Linked DNA regions of Homo sapiens: region 1 is linked to region 2. Evidence: promoter capture Hi-C in 16 types of primary human blood cells and fetal thymus (Javierre and others, 2016). All regions are on one chromosome and are shown on one strand. The core of a region is centred on a gene start or on the middle of the fragment in contact, and the rest is flanking DNA. Distances in the headings are between cores, read along the strand shown.

Region 1 (4,265 bases), core at 1-2,500, 51 kb after region 2:
GATTGCTAGACATTTAGTCCTGTTATAAGAGCACTAAAGATTTGGCAGTCACCAGGTATGGAGTCTCAGGAGGAGCTTACCGATGGATGGGGCATAGCCATTATATTTGCCCGAGTCCAGGGCATCTTTCATTGCCTGGGTAACTTCAGGGTCTGTAGGCAGGTTTCCAAACACAGTAGGGTCCCCTTTTTATGGGAGGAAAACACAAAAGGAGCCAAGAGGTTATTCTCCCATGTTCAGTACTCAGACTCACCCCCAACTGCCATCTTCTCCAACCAGCCTGTGAACATGAGAGTAGAGGAGGACAATGACAGCCCCTCAGTAGTGTCCCCAACTCACCAATGGACAGGGAAATCATGGTTTTGTTTGGATTTGGTTTCACCTTCATGTTGTCCACAATGGCTCGGATGGGGTTGAAAGTTTTCTTGGCCATGTCTGAGGGCCTCACAGACCACCTGGCCTTTCTGCCTTTCATTTTTCCCGGCACAGAGCTTCTCCCACCAACGTTGACATGCACGTCCAGAATTGAGGGGAGGTTGCCTTTGCTGCTCATCTGAATCATGTATGGGTCCATCACTAGCGAAGCCTGCGAGGGGAAAGAAGTTCCCTGTGATGTTGATAACATAGCGCTGGGGGACAGAGGAGCTACATTTGGACCTAAACATTGGGTGACTTCACTAAAAGTGTCTTTCCAAACTCTCTCTTTATTTTTTTTTCTACTTTCTGTTGTAAAGTAGCTTTACTATGAATGGGGGAGTTTTAAGAGTTTTTACTGAGATGGAAAATAAAGCAAGAACCCATTCTACTTAAGTAGGATTTGCTACACGCATCTGCAATTCCTGTCAAAGCTTAACCATGCTCTATGTGAAACCAAGAAGGAATAAGATGAAAATTGTTCATCAGTCAAAGCATAGGTTCTCCTTCCTTTCCATGCGAGCCTATCCAAGAAAATCTACCTAATGCTTCTTGTCATCTGCAGAGGACCAGGAAGAACCACTCCATCTTGTTAGAAGTTCCATGTAAATATCATTGTTAGTAAAAGTAAAACCTTATCCCATAAGCATGTTACAGCCCTAGCTGGAAAAAGAAATCAATACACCAAAAAGAAAAAAATTAACAGCTCAATCAGTCACCACTGCCTGATCAGCTTGGGCTTGAGATTTTTACCTTCCAAGTAAAGGAGAAAGCAGCCTCCAAGAAGCCAACCCCGAAAGCTCCCTTAGCTCTTCTTTGACAGGTTACAGGGGCAATGAACTCAGATGCAAATCCTAACTCCTGAAATAGTCTCCACAAATGGGCGTTGGGCTTGAAACTTTCATGCCATTGGTTGGAATGACAACTCAGCAGCCAGCTCTCCCCTCAGCTTCTTTCCTCCTCTCCCCCGTCATTGCCTCTCATCCCTAAGCCCACCTCCCACCCTCAAAGCAGGAATTTGTCCTCACTTCAAACATCTGGAATTCTCCTGTGTTAACTCTTTCTGGGCACTTGGTGAGATGGTTTGAGAACATCTACTGTCAGAAAGTACTTCTGGTTACAGTTGATAGCTTTTATTAAATTTTTTTTACAAAACAGCCTGTTAAAATTTTAACAGTACAGAAATATATAAAGTAAGAAGTGAGCATTCTTCCTTGCACCTGCTCCCTGTACACTTCATTCTCACTCCCAGGGGTAGAGGGTGGTAATGGTCAGGCTCTTTCCCTCCATTCAGAGATAGATACATTACATATAGGTGCATAGATACATAATTTCATAGATTTCAAAACACAGATAGGATCGTGCTCTACACCTTGTTTGGCAACATTTTTTTTTTAACTTCCTACATCTTGGACGCCCATCCTTGTCAGTCCACAAAGTTTTGCTCCAATCAGAACAAATTGGGCACTTAAGTTCCATTCAACAAATAGCTGAAAAGCACAGGGTGTCCAAGGCAGCTGAAACCTGTGCAGTTTTATCCTTGCACTGTGCATGAATTCTTCATTTACCTCCTATGGTTGTTGGAAGAATTTAAAATGTCAGGTGCGATCCACACAAAACAACTTTGCTAAGCAAAACACAAGGTCCACAGCCAAAATCTCAACATTCCTGTGAGCAGATGGAAAATACCACCCACTGAAGGGTTAAGAGAAGCCTCAGTGATCTCCCCAGGGCTCAGATCCTGTCTGTTTATTTGTTGGAAGACAAAGATTTTTCACATCAGTTTGTTCTTCTCCATTCACTTTTCAGGGAGTCAAGCCTCCAGTGGGGTTGAATACAGTAGTCCCCCCTTATCCACAGGGAGCACACTCCAAGACCTCCAGTGGATGCCTGAAATTATGGATGTCTGAAACCATGGGTAGTACTGAGCCCTAGGTACACTATGTTTTTTCTTATACAGTAATGGCAGGTAACGTCTATAGCATGGATACACTAGAAAAAATTATTCACGTCTTGGGCCAAGGGCATCCTTGTCATAAATGTTAGTTTACATATTTGATTATTTCCTTAAGACAGATTTCTATACAAGGACTGTGTTGCAAAGAATAAGCATTTCTCTTTTACATTTTTAGTAAATATGATATATCCTTATATAATAAATTCAAATAGAGATGTACGTGAATTAAACCCTGATCACCTTCCCTCCCTGCATTCTCATTTTATATAAAAAAATCATTTTTAGTCATTTCTTGTGTACCCTTCCAAATGTTTTCTATGTTTATTACAATACGTATAAAGCTGGTTTGGGAGTTGCTAAAAAAATGGAGAGTAAACGTGGTCTATAGTTGCACTGTCTAATATTGTAGCTACTAGTCATAAGTGGCCGTTGAATACTTGAAATGTGACTGGTCTGAATTAAGATGTGTTGTAAAATACACATCAGGTTTTGAAGACTTAGTATAAAAAAAGAATGTTAATATCTCATATAATTTTGTATGATTACATGTTTAAAGAATATTTTGGGGCTGGGCATGGTGGCTCACACCTTTGGTAATCCCAGCCTTTCGGGAGGCCAAGGTGGATGGATCACTTGAGCTAAGGAATTCAAGACCAGCTTGGGCAACATAGTGAAACCCCGTCTATACAAAAAGATACAAAAACTAGCCAGGCATGGTGGCATGAGCCTATAGTCCCAGCTACTTGGGAGGCTGAGGTAGGAAGATCACCTGAACCCAGGAGGTCAAGGCTGCAGAGAGCTGTGATCATGCCATTGCACTCCAGCCTGGGTGACAGAATGAGACCTTGCCTCAGAAAAAAAAAAAAAAAAAAATATATATATATATATATATATGTATATATATATATAAAATGTATTTTATTTTACTCAGTACACCGTATATATATAATAAAATATATAATAAAATATATGATAATAAAATACATGGTGTGCTGAGTAAAATAAAATACATTCTTAAAATTAATTTCACCTATTTGTTTTTATATCTTAAAATATTTCTATTAGGAAATTTGAAGTCACTATGTGGCTTGCATTCTGTCTATTGGACAGGGCTGTTCTGTAGCTTGCTTTTTTTAAAATCTTAATAATGTGTGGGCTGGGCGTGGCAGCTCATGCCTGTAACCCCAGCACTTTGGAGGCCAAGGCAGGCAGATCATCTGAGATCAGGAGTTCAAGACCAACCTGGCCAACATGGCAAAACCCCATCTCTACTAAAAATACAACAATTAGCCAGGCACAGTGGTGCACACCTGTAATCCCAGCAACTCAGGAGGCTGAGGCAGGAGAATCGCTTGAACCCAGGAGGTGGAGGTTGTGGTGAGCCGAGATCGTGCCACTGCACTCCAGTCTGGGCGACAGAGTGAGACTCCGTCTCAAAAAATAAAAAATAAAAATAAATAGCCTGGTGTGGTGGCTCACGCCTATAATCCCAGCACTTTGGGGTTGCTGAGGCAGGCGGATCACGAGGTCAGGAGATGGAGACCATCCTGGCTAACACCGTGAAACCCCATCTCCGCTAAAAATACAAAAGTTAGCCCAGCCTGGTGGCGGGTGCCTGTAGTCCCAGCTACTCGGGAGGCTGAGGGAGGAGAATGGCATGAATCCGGGAGGTGGAGCTTGCAGTGAACTGAGGTCGCGCCACTGCACTCCAGCCTGGGCGACAGAGCCAGACTCTGTCTCAATAAATAAATAAATAAAATAAAAAATAAAGCATATCGAATGTCCTTGTACATTCATGATTGATAGAGAACTTTTATGCATATCCTGTTATTTGAGGGATAGTTTCAATTACGGACTATACAAAGACGAAAGCAATGCAAATATGTTTAATTTG
Region 2 (4,229 bases), core at 1,242-3,741:
CATCTGCATTGCAGGCTGATGCTTAGCGTAAAAAAATGAGGAATGCTAGAGCCCCCATAAGAAAAGAAACTCAAGGAAGCATCACTGTCCTTTCAGTGTCACTAGGGACAGAAAAGATATGTAGGTAAGTGTGGAAGTGAAGAAACTGCAATCTCATTTGGAGTGATGGTCAGGGTAAGGTAGCAGGAGTAGGTAGTATAACCAGCAGAAAGATCCTTTTGACCCCTGAGAAAATCAGAGTCTAGGTCAGTAGCTGACCCCAGGTCTCTTCACCACTCAGGTGGGTCCCCAGACAGTAAAGATGGTAAACTTCCAAGGGCAAAGATGAGATCAGCGACTCCGCTGAATAGTGGTCCCCAGGAGACAATTGTCTAAATCACTTCAAGTACACACAGCCTTTTGTACGGATTTTAAACTTGGGATTCCTTGGCATTGCACATGATTTTGTGTTTGTATATGAGCAATTGTACATTTTTCTACAGAGGTCTATATCTGTTATCAGATTTTGGAGACTCAAAAAGAAAAAGATTAGATCTCTTACTTGACTGCACGATCCAATATGGTTGCACTAGCACGTTTCAGGTGGACAGTGGCTACTGTATAGTGCAGATATGGAACATTTCCATCATCACAGAGACTGTTATTGGACAGTGCTGCCTTAGAGACGTGGGCTGCAGGACTTCCACAAGAAGGCCTGGATATCAGACACCAGCATTCAAATTTCTTCCCAGTGCTGTGGAATGTGGTAGACCCTTGGAAGTCCAGTATCTGAACATGCTGGTCACCACCGTATACTAGTGACCAGAGGATGCCTTTCTTCAGCTGCTTGGCATTCTGCCAGCATGAATTCCTAGCACGGGAAAGATGGCAGGTGATCTGAATTACTTGGGGTTATGGTGTATTTGAGTGACCTCACTATATTTGGGAAGGCGCTGGAAAAACACGAAAAGAATGTTAGAAAGGGCTGGAATAAAACTACAGGAGTCCCCTCTTTATCCACGGTTTTGTTTCCCAGTTTTAACTACTCATCATCAACCACGATTTGAAAATATTAAATGGGAAAATTACAGAAATAAACAGTTCATTTATTACATACTATTCTGAGTAGCATGATGAAGCCTTGTGCCATCTCGCTGTGTCGTGCCAGCACCTGAATCATCTCTTTGTGCATAAAAGCAAAACTACCGACTGCCCAGTTCTAGTGCTTCCAGTTACACCTCTGCCCAAAGTCCTTCACTGGAGGAAGAGAAATTTCTCTTCTCTCTGCCAGAGAGAAACAGGAAGGGAGGAAGAGCCACACAATTGAAATCAAGTCAAGGCAAGCACCACAGGTTCTTGTCATTTGTGCTTAGCGGACTTAGCTGATGGAAATCGGCAAAGATCATCCCAAAGCTCACACAACTCCCTGCCTGCTCTCTCTCTCTTCCAAGGTCTGGAAAAGGAAGTGGCAGCTGAGTTGCGGGGGTGGGTGGCGGTGGGAAGGTATTATTATTCAACCACTTTTTAACTCTTATATTGTCATATTATTGTGTTAGGAGCTTCATACGCATTAATCCTAACATTCACAACAATACTGTAAAATAGATATTGTTACCCTTATTTAACACCGATGATATTCTAGGGCTCAAAGAGGTGGTATGACTTGCCCGGCAAGATCTTGGACTTGAAAGTCTGAGGCTTCCATTCTCCACCACAATTTACGTTTATTCACGGGCATCCATTGTTTCAGACTCATGACAACCGTGTAAAGTAGCACGGAGTAGGTAAGTGATTTGCCCAAGGGCACACAGCAAGGGAGAGGTTGTAATCTTTAATGATAATTTGTTTCTTTTTTTCTTAAAGGGGACTTTTTTTTCTCCTGTACCACCAAGCCAGTACATCTATGTCCTCCCAGAAAATATTTATTACCTCTTGTAGCAAGGGTGAAGATATTGAATACAACACAGAGGCTGAGAAATGTTACCTCCCTAGACCCAGGGTGGAGTGAGCAGGCAGGTGTAATGCAAGAAATAACTTTCACATTTTCTCCTTGGAGATAAGAACAAGGTCTAAAAATCAGGTTTGAGATTTTGTAGCCTTTCGGCTTGTAAGTGTCATGAAATTTCCCTATCAGCCTCATCTACTAGCTCCCTGGGTCTCTCTCTCTCTCTTTCTCTTTTTCCCCACCTCCCCACTCTGCCCATAGGGAGTTGACCTTCACAGTTGCCTTTCAGTAGTCAACATGCCAGGATGCCTCCAGTCTGGGGGAAAATGCTTCCTCATTTGCTTCTCCCAGCCCACCTCAAGCAGTCTCCCCACCCCTTGAGTCTCAGCAGTGTTAAAGCTGTTACTTTCACAGCTTCCTGGGAGCGAGTGCTTTCTCAAGCCCGTCTTGCAAGGTGGGTCCTTTTTTGTTTTTGGCAGAAGGGAGGGACAGTGAAATGTGCTCTGAGTAGGGACGGTTATGCAAAAGCAAGTAGGAGGAGGAAGCCAAGAGGGGAGTTGGTGAGTCAGAGGAGAAAAGCGCATGGCCCGGCTAGCAGTGAGCCTCTCAAAAGCAGCAGGGAAGCCCAAGCCACAAGGTAAGAAGAGAATTTCTGTGTACGACTCCAATGCAGAGCCATTACCCAGAGCTGCTGGAGCAAGAGTATCAGATAACCTCTGGCAGCTAAGCTAGAGATTACAGTGGCGAAGGCGGTTTGCGCAGAGGGGATAAATCAGATCACCTGGGGAATTTTCTGGGTAAAATAAAACACAAGCTGCTTACCAGCAGCCCCCAAGCCCCACTAGCTCTATCCCTAAATGGGTCCAAAAGAGCCCAGAGAGCAGATCAGGCTGTTCTGATGTATATTTTGTAGATGGTCCCCTGGTGCCAACTGACTCGTTCAGATCCTGGCTTTGGAGCTCAAATTTCTGTACTTCCTGCAGCTTCTCCTCTGTTTTCTGCTGGGGAGTGGAAGACAGGAGGTGCAAGGAGCTGTAGGTTTTCTCTAGCTCAGGAGAGGGACAGTGTGATCATTGAAAATTCTCAGCCCTGGGATCCCCAAAACCTGGGTTCTGATCCAGAAAAGGCTATTTATACCGGATGAGCCAGTCAATTAAAGTTTAGTTTATTTATTCTGAAAAATGAAGAAATGTCTCATCACTGTCTAAAATATCTAACCGATCAGTATCATAATTGCAGCTAAAAGGGCTTTAAAAATGTGGAACACCACGCACATGTGCAATATGATTAAGTTATGGTGCCAACATATCAGCTATGGTAGAAGATACGTCTATCTTGCATGGCCTTGGACAAGTATGAAACTTCTAATTGGAATTGAAATACTTTTCTATGTGTAAAATAAATGTAATATTGTCGATGAAAAGAGTCAGACTCTGTGACATATTTGAAGAGATTTATTCTGAGCCAAATATGAGTGACCATGGCCGGTGACACAGCCCTCAGGAGGTCCTGAGAACATGTGTCTAAGGTGGTCGGGGTGCAGCTTGGTTTTATACACTTTAGGGAGACATGAGACTTCAATCAAATACATTTAAGAAATACATCTAGCCAGGCGCGATGGCTCGCGCCTGTAATCCCAGCACTTTGGGAAGCTGAGGCAGGTGGATCACCTGAGGCCAGGAGTTCAAGACCAGCCCGGCCAACATGGCGAAACCCTGTCTGTACTAAAAATACCAAAAAAATTAGCTGGGCATGGTGGCAGGCACCTGTAATCCCAGCTACTCAGGAGGCTGAGGCAGGAGAATCGCTTGAAACCGGGAGGCTGCAGTGAGCCGAGATCCTGCCATTGCACTCTAGCCTGGGCAACAAGAGCAAAACTCCATCTCAAAAAAGAAAAAAGAAAAGAAAAAAGTACGGGTCTGTCGCCCAGGCTGGAGTGCAGTGGTGCGATCTCGGCTCACTGCAACTGAGAGGAAGCCTTCAGATAGCAGGCTTCAGAGAGAATAGGTTGTAAAATGTTTCTTATCAGACTTAAGGTCTGTGTTGGTGTTAATGCTGGAGAGGTATGATGAGGCATGTTAGATCCCCACTTCTTGTCATGGCCTGAAACAGTCTCTCAGGTTAAATTTTAAAAAGACCCCTGGCTGGGCACAGTGGCTCATGGGTGTAATCACAGCACTATTAGGAGACTGAGGTCACTTGAGGTCAGGAGTTCGAGACCTGCCTGGCCAACATGGCAAAACCATGTCTGTACTAAAAATACAAAAAATTAGCCAGGTCACTCGGGAGGCTGAGGCAGGAGAAG

The links. Contacts are between HindIII fragments. The CHiCAGO score rates a contact against its expected background, and 5 or more counts as called.
Region 1: the fragment with the promoter of TAT here is called in contact with the fragment with the promoter of CHST4 in region 2 in 1 of 17 cell types (monocytes); the score reaches 6.9 in monocytes.

What each region holds. Positions count from the first base shown.
Region 1 is chr16:71,575,842-71,580,106 of GRCh38, forward strand. It overlaps TAT (tyrosine aminotransferase), which reads right to left and starts at 1,251. Exons shown (of 12, transcript NM_000353.3): 1 at 1,168-1,251; 2 at 340-586; 3 at 81-185. The coding sequence starts at 574. The HindIII fragment of the contact is 5,727 bases long and covers 847-4,265 here.
Region 2 is chr16:71,523,935-71,528,163 of GRCh38, forward strand. It overlaps CHST4 (carbohydrate sulfotransferase 4), which reads left to right and starts at 2,492. Exons shown (of 2, transcript NM_001166395.2): 1 at 2,492-2,561. RefSeq lists an enhancer at 2,125-2,735. The HindIII fragment of the contact is 27,165 bases long and covers 1-4,229 here.